Linked DNA regions of Homo sapiens: regions 1, 2 and 3 are each linked to region 4. Evidence: promoter capture Hi-C in 16 types of primary human blood cells and fetal thymus (Javierre and others, 2016). All regions are on one chromosome and are shown on one strand. The core of a region is centred on a gene start or on the middle of the fragment in contact, and the rest is flanking DNA. Distances in the headings are between cores, read along the strand shown. Region 1 overlaps GPR160 (G protein-coupled receptor 160). Region 2 overlaps PHC3 (polyhomeotic homolog 3). Region 3 overlaps PHC3 (polyhomeotic homolog 3). Region 4 holds the start of SAMD7 (sterile alpha motif domain containing 7).

Region 1 (2,891 bases), core at 14-2,513, 150 kb after region 4:
CACTCCAGCCTGGGTGACAGAGTGAGACCATGTCTCAAAAACAAACAAAAAAAGCAAAAAAAAAAAAAAAAAAAAAACCTCAGCACAGGATTAGAGCCAAACGTGAACTAGGAAGCCGCGCGAGTCTCCTCTCTCCGGTGGAAGAGCTGGGACGTGTCCCCCACACCGCGACGAGGTATGAGGAAGACGCTGTCTCCCAAAGGCCTGGACGGGATGGCTCCAAGCTCTTGTTCTCCTAACATCTGGACAGGCGCTCTTTGAAGTGTATGAATATATTTTTAAAAGATTGGGCAGTAAGCTTGTCTTCCCCGTGCTTTCTCGAAAGCTTACTGAGCTCGTGGCCCTGAGCGCGGGCCGGCATAGATTTCCTCTTCCACCCGCTGCGGCTTTTCTGAGCACCTGGAAGCATCGGGGTGTGAAGTCAAACCAGACGTGGGTGAGGAGAGTGTGGCTTGCCTTCCCTGCCGGGCAGAATTTCCTGAAACTGGGCTAATTCTTTGTAGAAATGTGAACGCTGAATTTATTAAAAAATAATAATAAAACACAGGAAACAACTTACATGTACATAGGTCTTGAAGTGAGTGAAGCGGCTGTATTTTTTTGGGGGGGGCATTGCTTTTGTTTTTGTAGAAGAGATTGAGATGATACTCTATTCTAATCAAAATTAGAGATTTGTAGTGGGACCAGAAATTACGTACTTAATACCCCTGCCAGTTTTCCCCGCGTCCTGCTGGGTTGAAAGTTCCAGAGCTGCCGTCTAGGCCTCGTGTTTGTCAGACACCCACGGCTCCTGCGAGGTCGCAGCCATGAGCTGGCGGGGGTGAGTACACAAGCCCAGATCCCCCAACCCGAACTGCGGCTGCCAGCCTCAGAGAAAGGCGCCCAGGTGTGCGGGCAGGGCCGAGACCCCCGGGAATCTAAGATAGGCCAAGGTTTTCACCTAGACTGTCAAGGCTGGAGGAGTAGGTGGCGGCCTCGACCCTCCCTACACGGGACCCATTCTTTTCTTTTCTTTTCTTTTTTTTTTTTTTTTTTTTTTGAGGCAGAGTCTCACTCTGTCGCCCAGGCTGGAGTACAGTGGCACAATCTCGGCTCGCTGCAATCTCCACCTCCCGCGTTAAAGCGATTCTTCTGCCTCAGCCTCCTGAGTAGCTGGGACTACAGGCACATGCCACCGCGCCTGGCTAATTTTTTGTATTTTTAGTAGAGACGGGGTTTCACCATGTTGGCCAGGCTGGTCTCAAACTCCTGATCTCGTCATCCGCCCGCCTCGGCCTTCCAAAGTGCTGGGATTACAGGCGTGAACCACCGCACCCAGCTATGCAGGACCCATTCTTACTGAGTGAGACTCGGGAGTCATGACCTGGTGTCTCCTGCCCACCCTGGTCCCAGGTAAATCTGAATGGAAGCAGGTATGAGAGCCTGTCCTCGCCTTTGATTCCCCCACCCCACCCTGGGCCTCACAACGGTGCTACCTAAGAAAGTCTCTTCCCCCAGTCAGCCTGGTGAGTGGTCAGCCGAAGAGGATCTGACGGGAGTGTAGATGTGAGATAGTATCTTTGTTGTACCTGTTTGTGGTTTAGCTTTGTATTTAAACAAATGAGGAAATAAACTTGAAAATTATTTGTCATCATAAAGTTGAAACAAAAATTATTTTAAAAAATAAAGTTTTATTTTAAAATAAAATAGCTAATGAGTATCGTACATTACAATTACATTTCCTTTCTAAACTTTTTTGTTTTCCTTTCAGTTATCTGTCTGCTTTTTTTTCTATATACTTATCGCTAATTCAACCACAGACTCTTCTCTTTTGTGTAAATCTTTTGGTATGTTCAAAGATATTTGGAATTTCCACCTTCCTGGAGGAATTTCTCCCATAGCCATGTGCCCTACTCTAATTTAGATTGTGCACTCTGGATCTGATGCCTAGATAATCTTCACCAACCTCGGAATCCTCGAATTGTACTCTACATGGTTTTTCTTCTCTTCTAATGCATCCCATTTCCTGGACCGCATGTATTGCTCTCCTAGTTTATTATTCCTCATTCTGATGACGTATGCCTTTCTTTCATTGGCTTCCTAAGAACTTCATGTGAGTAAAACATTTTTGAGTATGTGGCTTCATTTTATACCTACACTTAATTGACCATTTAGTTTGGTGTAGAATTCTATGTTGGAAAGTTTCTTTCATGAAATATTAAAAAGCTTTTTAAAGTAAACTAAATACTTAAATTATTTGTGTAATTGAGAATTGTACCAATTTGTAGATAACTTGTTTTTTTCCTTACTCAATGTGTTTAATTTTTTGAATACTTAATACAGTCACATGTTTAGCAGAATGTTCATAGTAGGAAAAAAAATGTACTGAAGTCTTCATCTCATTCATGACCCCATCTGCCAAGTTCCTACCCCTGTAACCACTGTCTTTAACTTTTTTTTTTAAGAGATGGGGTCTCGCTATGTTGCCCAGACTATACTCAAACTACTGGGTTCAAGCAATCCTCCTGCCTCAGCCTCCTGAGTAGCTGGGATATAGGCATGCACACATGCCCAGTGCTCACTTTTTAAGTGTCCTTCCAGGGTTTCTTCATGTATATATAGAAGATTACTTGACACTATTCTTTTTCTTTTTCTTTTTTTTTTTTTTTTTTTTTTTTTTTTGTGACAGAGCCTCGCTCTGTCACCCAGGCTGGAGTCCAGTGGCACGATCTCGGCTCCCTGCAAGCTCTGCCTCCCGGGTTCACGCCATTCTCCTGCCTCAGCCTCCCGAGTAGCTGGGACTACAGGCGCCCATCACCACGCCCGGCTAATTTTTGGTATTTTTAGTAGAGACGGGTTTCACCATGTTAGCCAGGATGGTCTCAATCTCCTGACCTCATGATTCGCCCGCC
Region 2 (2,889 bases), core at 123-2,622, 190 kb after region 4:
CACTTGAAAAGTACATTTAAAATATTTTTATTGTTCACTCGGGACATATCAAATTTCTCAAGACTGTATTACCAATCTATTGCAATGCTGCTGAAATGTATTACGCTGCTTGACTTGACTATCACTGGGCTTGTCTCCACTTTTGTTAAGAAAACAATTCTCATTGAAATTATGAGCTTGCTGGCGAATTTCCTGCCATATAACCAATATTTTAGCTCTCAGTCTAAACCAGGTGCTTTAGCAGGTAACAATGCTAGTATCTACCTGAAACTCAAATGTTTTTACTGTCTACCAAATTTTCACATCCAAATTACTCAATAAACTTACCCATTAAGGGTAAAGAAACCAATAGGAAAGGTAATCAATTAAGTAGCTGAGATGAGAGAATATAAAAATATGGAAGCTTTCTTGAGAGACAGTAAAATTTTAAGATGAATTTAAGAATACACATAAAAACTGACAGCTTAAGTTTTTCTATTTTATTCAAATCAGCATTCTAAGGGAAAACACAAAGAAAAAGATAATGAAAAATGAAAATAGTTACATTACACTTTTGGATGCCACAATTTTGCTAGTTCAATTATCCTTTCTACTTGCAAATGTATCATCCTCTTGTTTATGTAAGATTATGATGTCTTACAACCCCAGCACAAAGCACAAAGCATTATAGGTACTGAATACATAATATTTGTCAATAAGGACTGAATTAGTGAATACACAATAAACAAAAATATAATCTGCTATAGAAGAGCTATCTGTAAGAGTAATACAAACATTTTTTCCTGTGTACAGCTGTGTGTCCATTTTTTCTCTTGCTTATTTCTTTTCTCACGTCCTCTGTTACTTGTATCTTTACTGTTTCCTATATAACAACTAGCTTTTCAATTTCTATTTTAATAATTTCTCAGACTTTGAAAAATTGACATTTCAATACCCTCTACGAAATTATTATGCTTTTGCACATTTATCTTATAAAAGAAACTATAGTTGAAATGGGATTACTCACCATAGAAAAGCCCCTTTTCTTTTCCCAGAGGTAGCTCTCAACAAAACTGGGCAGACAAAACTGACTAATCTTGCATCTAGTTGTGACTTCATCCTTCTTTTTATGAAAGAACTAATGTTCTTCTCTCTTCAGTCTTACTTACAAGAACACAGGAAAGAAAAGAAGAGAGAGAAAGATAGGGTGGGACTTACTTAGATTCAGAAAACAAGAGCAATGAGAAGTAATGAGAACTATAAGAGCTACATTTGGGAATAGAAACAAGGAGTTCTCCATGAGGAAAATATGTAGCACATTCCTGTTCCTCTGTATTGTGAGATTCCTCTTCAAATATCCTCTTGTAGGTGAACAGTAAATGTATTAGCAAAATAATATAGAACAAAAAGTGTTTTGGGAATTAGCACGATCAAATAGGAATGCATTTTAGATCACAACTTTCTTAAGCTAACCACAAAAAAAGTATAGTTACATCAGTATAGAAATTTAAAAAAAAGTGACTTAGAAAAATTGGAAGCAAGTATGCTTCCAGAATCTCATTACAGAAAAATATATTTTAAAAACAATTTTAAGTGCTCAAGGTATACTGAGATAAAGTTCTGAGTTTCTGACATTAACATCTACTTTGGTAAAATGCCTGGATCCCGGGGATGTGTACAAAACATACACCAACTGACACAGCCAGTCAGCTGAGCTAGCTTCACCTCACCAGAAGCAAGTGTAGTGCAGCTCTCAGCACAGGCAAGGACCTCTGCACATGGGTCCCAACTGATCTTTCAAGTGTCTGGCATCACTTCTCCAGCTAAACTCAAAATAAAACACCCTGCACAAAAATTGACCACAGTAAGGTTGGTGAAAAGGTATCACCTGCCACTCAATACTACAGAATAAACAAGTCCCAATACTGATATTACAAAAACCAGTAAATAGTCATGTTTTAAAAAATGATTCCTAGTTTATATGCCTACAGAAAAATCAAATCTACTGTGGATTCACCCTTCAATAAACAGAGGACAAACTGATCTCTGCAAAAGGCAGTTCACCATAGCAAGGAAAGGTTAAAGAAGATAACCCGCAGTAAATTGAAAATAAGAATTATTCCTGTAGATAACTTTTTAATGCAGAGAAAATTAGAAGGCGGTAATTTTTCATTCTGTTAACAGCTCTGAGATTCTGGTCTACTGCATACAAGCTCTAACATAGTCTGAACAGGATGGTTAACAAGACGATATACAAAGAGAAGAGAAAACTGGAGGAGTAAATATAAATGCCCTGGTTAAAGAGGGAAGGAAGCCTATCTCAACTGGAAAGAAACAAAATACAAAAGAGATTACAAAATTTACAAGCTTGTTCATCCTATGAGAAAAGCTTGGGAGTAGACTACTCAGGGAAAACAAACAGCGCTTAATGAGAGCTAAAAGAAGCTCAAAACGAAATTTACAAAGTCCAGAGAAGCAGAAAGAAATGAACACTAAGGCATTTTCTGGTATGAGATTACCTTAAACTATAGGCATTATGCAGAGAAAACTGTGAGAAAGGTGATACAACTAATCACACAAATAAGCTTATTATTTGGCCTGTCAAAGCAGTTTGGAAACACTCCCATTTCATAAGTAAAGAAGAGAGTCATATTAACCAGACTCTAAAATAGTAGTAAGCAATTCTAAATTATATAATAGCTGTGTCCTTTTTATGATATATAATGTTTTCTAAATACCTGGCAACAAAATTAAGTGTCTAGATGAACTCTATAAGACAAGCATTTTAAGTTATGAGGAATATTAAGTTTTATGTTTTTTTAACTCAAATGATGCAAGAATGAGGCAAAGGAATTTGCCTTTGTTCTGGTAAAGTAGCCACATGGCAAAGGATGCTGGGGAAAATTAGCC
Region 3 (2,764 bases), core at 144-2,643, 200 kb after region 4:
TCAACTAATTAAGATTTTTCATGCACAAAGCTTTTTATTTGTAGGGTTAATGATCAAGACAAAATTATTGGATGTATTTTCTGGATAAGAAAACTAAAATTCAAAATGTTTAGGTGATTTGTTTACAAAAACAGAATGAGGACTAGAACTCAAGTCTCCTGAATCCTAGTTTAGCAAACTAATCCACTATAATCACAAAAGAAATGGAAAATCCTCAAATATTAACAAATTAACATCAAAATATTCACTTATATTCAGTATACTTGGTTAACTCAGGAATACTACCTATTTTAGAAGTATTTTCAACAAAAACAACTCAGATCAAATATATTCATTGATTCACTGGTGAGCCCTCAGCTAATTTAAAAAACAGAATGACTAGAACATCTTATTCCTCAAGAATGCTGGTTAAGTCTCCAATATCTGCCACATATGGGGAACAACAGCTTATTGGACAGAAACTTCTACATTTAACTTTAGAGTATAATTACTCACAAACTTTTTAAACATTTTGTTCATTTGAGTTAGATATTTAATATGCCTCAAGTGAAATTAAAATTTACAGAAGTTATTGCTTAAAGAAAAACTCACATTCAATGCTAAGGGCATACACTTCTCACAGATGAATAAATTTAAATCATTTTCCAAAAAATAATTCAGCAATACGTATCAAGAGTCTTATGAATATCTATGTAATATGACATAATAACTCTATTTCTAGGAATTCATACTAAGAAACTTATTTAAAATGTGTATGATTTATATATATAGATATTCCTTTCAGAACTATTTGAACAGTGAAAAAATGGAAACCTAATGTCCAACAATAATGGAAAGATTACATAAATTATGGATGTTCATAAAGTGAAATATTATGTAACCTTTCAAAATGTTTCCAATACTATTAATAATGAGAAAATACTCAAATTTCCTCAGTGAAAGGAGAACTGTATGTACCATAATCTTGATTATATGTATGTATCTATAACATATATACATTATATACACAAACACATATACATTAAAACCACAGTATGTATATGTACATATATACAATACATATGTACATATATACCACAATACATATGTATACACATATACATACTGTGGTATTAATGTGTACTGTGGTATATATAGACATAAACATATTGTGGTATTAATGGGGATCATTTGCCCTGTACATTTCCCAAATCTTCCATTTAGAACATGTATTAGTTTTATAATGTGAAAATAAAAGTTATGGCTCTCACTAGTGATAACAGATAATAATGGCTATGGCCATGAAGTGCCAGGTACCATACAGAATAATTTATGCACATTTAGTTCTCTCGACAACTCTAAGAGCAAAGCACCGTCTCCACCTGACAAATAAGCAAAATAAAGATCAGAAAGTTTGAATGACTTGACAAAGGTTACCCAGTCAGTATGGAGCAGACAGGGAAAAAAGACTGTTCCTCCATCCACTGTATGAGAATTGTTATAGGAAATCCAAGTTTCTCACACACACACACACACACACACACACGAAATTGAACACAAAAACAACTGATTGGGTAGCTATCTATCATAATGCAAGATTTTCACCCATGAATCTGAAAATCCAGATGACTCAAAAGGCCTTCAAAAAATTTTTCATATTTTTATATATGCTTGTCTTTGATATATTTTCTAAGGAAAAATGTTTATCTCTAGATATTAGCATACAAATTATGTACAGCTTAGCTTCAAGTTGTAAGACCTGTAGTGATAGAGGACCTTCATTTTGAGCGGGACATTTTAAAGCATTTGAAAAATATGATTGAAGGCTGAAATTTAGGAATGAGAAAATATATTTGCTAATTACAAACCATCAATTGGGTAGCTTCAGATGTAACTTCAGATGATTTAAAATAATACACTTTATGGCCAGGTGCAGTGGGTCACACTTGTAATCCAAGCACTTTGGGAGGCTGAGGCGGTAGATCACTTGAGGCCAGGAGTTTGAGACCAGCCTGGTCAAGATGGTGAAACCCCCTCTTCGGTACTAAAAATACAAAAATTGGTCAGGCGTGGTGGTGCATGCCTGTAGTCCCAGCTACTGAGGTAGCTAAGGCATGAGAATCACCTAAACCTGGGAGGCAGAGGTTGCAGTGAGCTGAAACAGTGCCACTGCACTCCAGCCTGGGTGACAGAGCGAGACTCTCTCTCAAAAACTCAAATAAATAAATAAAAATAAAAATAGTAGTACACTTCAGCTGTCATTTCAGTTCCCTTAAAAAGAAAAAATGAGCCGAGCGCCATGCCATGGCTCACACCTGTAATCCCAGCACTTTGGGACCCCAGGAGTTAAAAACCAGCCTGAGAAACACGGCAAGACCTTGTCTCTACAAAAAAATACAAAAATTAGTGGGGCACGGTGGCGCACACCTGTAGTCTCAGCTACTCAGGTGGCTGAGGTAGAAGAATCAACTGAGCCCCAGGGGTCAAGGTAACAGTGAGCCATGATCGCACCACTGCACTCTAGCCTGGTCAACAGAGCAAGATCCTGTCTAAAAAAAAAAAGAAAGAAAAAATATAAAAGTTGATTTCACTGAATAAACTTCCAACTACCTTTCTCTAAAAATTATAAAAATATGTCCTGAAATTTTTTTCATTTTTTCCCTTAGTTTATGCATCTAAACTTAGCTGGCATAAAATTCTACATAAACATTTGGAAATAAAGGAAGTAGAAAGATAAATGCTAGATTAAAATGGACAACTTTCTTGAAATAAAATTACAAGCTTT
Region 4 (2,700 bases), core at 158-2,657:
CATGGTGGCTCACGCCTATAATCCCAGTACATTGGGAGGCCGAGGTGGGTGGATTGCTAGAGTCCAGGAGTTCAAGACCAGCCTAGGCAACATGGCGAAAGCCTGTCTCTACAAAAAAATACAGAAAAAAAATTAGCCAGGCATGCGGTCGTGCACCAGTGGTCCCAGCTACTTGGAGGCTACGGTGGGAGGATTGCTTGAGTCTGGGGACATAGAGGCTACAGTGAGCCATGATTGTGCCACTGCACTCTAGCCTGGGTGGCAGAGCAAGAACTTGTCTCAAAAATAAATAAATAAAAATATAATAAAATGCATGCCTAAAGGCAGGTCCTGAACTTCCTACTAACCAACACAAAGAATGCAACACACTAGTTACGTGATTCCTGAGGTTTTATTTTGGCCTTATTTTTCAGAACAACAACAACAACAATAACAACAACAAAACAATTGTCCCTAGTACTACAAGCTGAGAAAAATTCCTCCCATGGATCCTCAACAGAGGACTCTGTGCAATATAGTTACCTAACATAATGGCTAATGTTTAGTGAGAACTATTCAAGCATTTTGTCTACCTTGTTGCCTTCCCTTTCCCAAGAAGGGCTCTTCTGAGATGAGGAAACTAAGGCTCAGAGAAGTTCAGTAACTTGGCCAGGCCATACAGCTAATGAGTGGTGGTGCTGAGGCTTATTGAGTCTGTTGGTCATCTAAGTCCCTGCTGTTGACCACTGCTTTATGAACAATAACCCTGGAATAAATACAGTCAGTTCCACATGCTATTTCTTATAATGAGTTCAACAGCCAATGATAAAAATGTGTGTCAACAAAGGAGCAGGTTACCTTCAAACTGGAAGCCTAAAGCATTACTTGAAACACAACTTAAATTTCTTATATTCAATTCTTATTTTGTACTTCCTACTAGTAAATTACTAGGAATCAAAAAATATGGATGTTCTTTTTCAAGCTATAAATGTTTCTCTAGCAAATATAACAGGTCACATTTTCAAAATTCCGTGTTTTCCCTCTTATATAGATCACAGCTCTCACACAGATGATAAAGGGTTTTCTCACTGCCTGTGAGAATTAAAGTACAGTTGTCCATTATAGAAGCTTCTTTTTAAAATAGACTGCCATCTTTCATCAAATGTTTCAGCTCTGTGGAAAATAACTTAGGTTTTTTCCTACTCGCAAAAGAAATGTTTCCACTTGAAACCTGTTGGAAATATGGAATAGGCTATATAGTTCCATCAAAGAAAAGCTTATTACTTATTTGCATAGTATATTTCTTTTGTGTCAAGTTGAACAGTGGTATTAAGTGAATGCCCACAAAGCATCTTAAAGGCTAAGGAAGGATTACACTAAAGGCTAAGCTCTGAGACAGGTTTATGCACCTTGCAGGGCACTTTCCTTGGGCTTAACATCTTTTAGCCTATCTGTAGAGGATATCAGAGGGCAAAGTTTCTGTCATGAAATAGGACTAATCAACTTAGTTGAATTTGTATTTAAAGCAAGGTTAAACTGAATTAAGACCATTTTTGAAAGAATTGTCAGATGTACCTTTCAACCCGCAGCCAGAGAAGCTTCTGCAGTTGAAGGCCAGAAAGTCTTTGTATGGTTCTTCCATCTGCAATATCAAAGACAAGAAGTCTTCATAGAGGATGTAAGTATGTAACTCTACACATTGATTAGCCCAAAATTGAGGCCAGTTACTCTGAGTAAAATGTTTCACATATAAAATAAAAGGACATCTTTATCTTAAAGGAAATGCTTAGGTTTATGTGTAGACTTTACTGGCTATTACTAACAGTATGTGAGCTAATAAATTCCTACTTGACTGAAGTTACTAACGAGTAAAGATGATATACCACTCCTACCAAATAAACACTGCCTGGTCTTAGTTTTTGGAGTTTTTTAAGTGAAAGTAAAATGAAGTTTATTTAAGATAAAGTCAGTTCAAAGTTGTATGTAAATTTACTGTAGTTTTATTATCTTCAAACAGATGAAGTACCTACCTCTATGTATTACTGCTGTTTATTTACTATATATTATTATTTTAATGGCCCCCCATTACTATAGATATCTATATTCCAAAAATTGTCATGATGTATGAACCATGAAATGTCAGAGTAGAAAATTTCAGAAAAACATTGAGGAACAATCAATGATAATCATGAAATAAAATCTATATTGATATTCCTTAATTCATTCTTTAAGACTATCTAACTAAAACACCTACTATTCAGTTCCATTATATGAGTACTGCTAGAATTTCACTTTAGTCTCTACAGATTTATATATAATGGACTTTGCTTCACAATCTTTTGAAGAAAGTGAACATAATTTATACAAACTGTAGTTGCACATAAATTATATTGAGTCCAGTAGAAATTACATAATTTTGACTTCTTTAATGATGTCAAAGGTTTACCTTTTTCTTTACAATACTTGTAATTGTGCCTAGAACCTGACATTTCAAGAAGACATGGATAGGTCTAATGAAAATGAGCTTCCAGAGTAAAAAGAAATAAGAAGTGACAGCAGCCAGCACGTAACCCACTGTCTTCAATGCTTTCCAGGGTATGTGCTATGGTGAAATGCAGTTAGAAAAGTCCTAAAGCTTATGCCTTTAGGAAAAGTGAAATACATTTTAGCAGCACTGCCAAGTGCTTCGGTATGAACTGTCTTTCTAAAGTTCTCCTCCGT

The links. The method cuts DNA at HindIII sites, captures the fragments that hold promoters and counts their contacts. A CHiCAGO score of 5 or more calls a contact.
Region 1: a fragment that was not itself captured here is called in contact with the fragment with the promoter of SAMD7 in region 4 in 1 of 17 cell types (total B cells); the score reaches 5.1 in total B cells.
Region 2: a fragment that was not itself captured here is called in contact with the fragment with the promoter of SAMD7 in region 4 in 2 of 17 cell types (total B cells and naive B cells); the score reaches 5.6 in total B cells.
Region 3: a contact is called between a fragment that was not itself captured here and the fragment with the promoter of SAMD7 in region 4, in 1 of 17 cell types (total B cells). The highest score is 5.0, in total B cells.

Annotation. Positions count from the first base shown.
Region 1 is chr3:170,063,498-170,066,388 of GRCh38, forward strand. The region is part of intron 2 of GPR160 (G protein-coupled receptor 160); the gene reads left to right. Among named protein-coding and RNA genes, the nearest start is that of GPR160, 27 kb to the left of the region's middle. The HindIII fragment of the contact is 1,880 bases long and covers 324-2,203 here.
Region 2 is chr3:170,097,891-170,100,779 of GRCh38, forward strand. All of the region lies in intron 14 of PHC3 (polyhomeotic homolog 3), which reads right to left. Among named protein-coding and RNA genes, the nearest start is that of GPR160, 61 kb to the left of the region's middle. The HindIII fragment of the contact is 1,943 bases long and covers 402-2,344 here.
Region 3 is chr3:170,114,380-170,117,143 of GRCh38, forward strand. The region is part of intron 10 of PHC3 (polyhomeotic homolog 3); the gene reads right to left. The region is part of intron 2 of LOC105374209 (a long non-coding RNA gene); the gene reads left to right. Among named protein-coding and RNA genes, the nearest start is that of PHC3, 66 kb to the right of the region's middle. The HindIII fragment of the contact is 2,730 bases long and covers 29-2,758 here.
Region 4 is chr3:169,910,165-169,912,864 of GRCh38, forward strand. SAMD7 (sterile alpha motif domain containing 7) reads left to right here and starts at 1,408. Exons shown (of 9, transcript NM_001304366.2): 1 at 1,408-1,657. The HindIII fragment of the contact is 322 bases long and covers 1,254-1,575 here.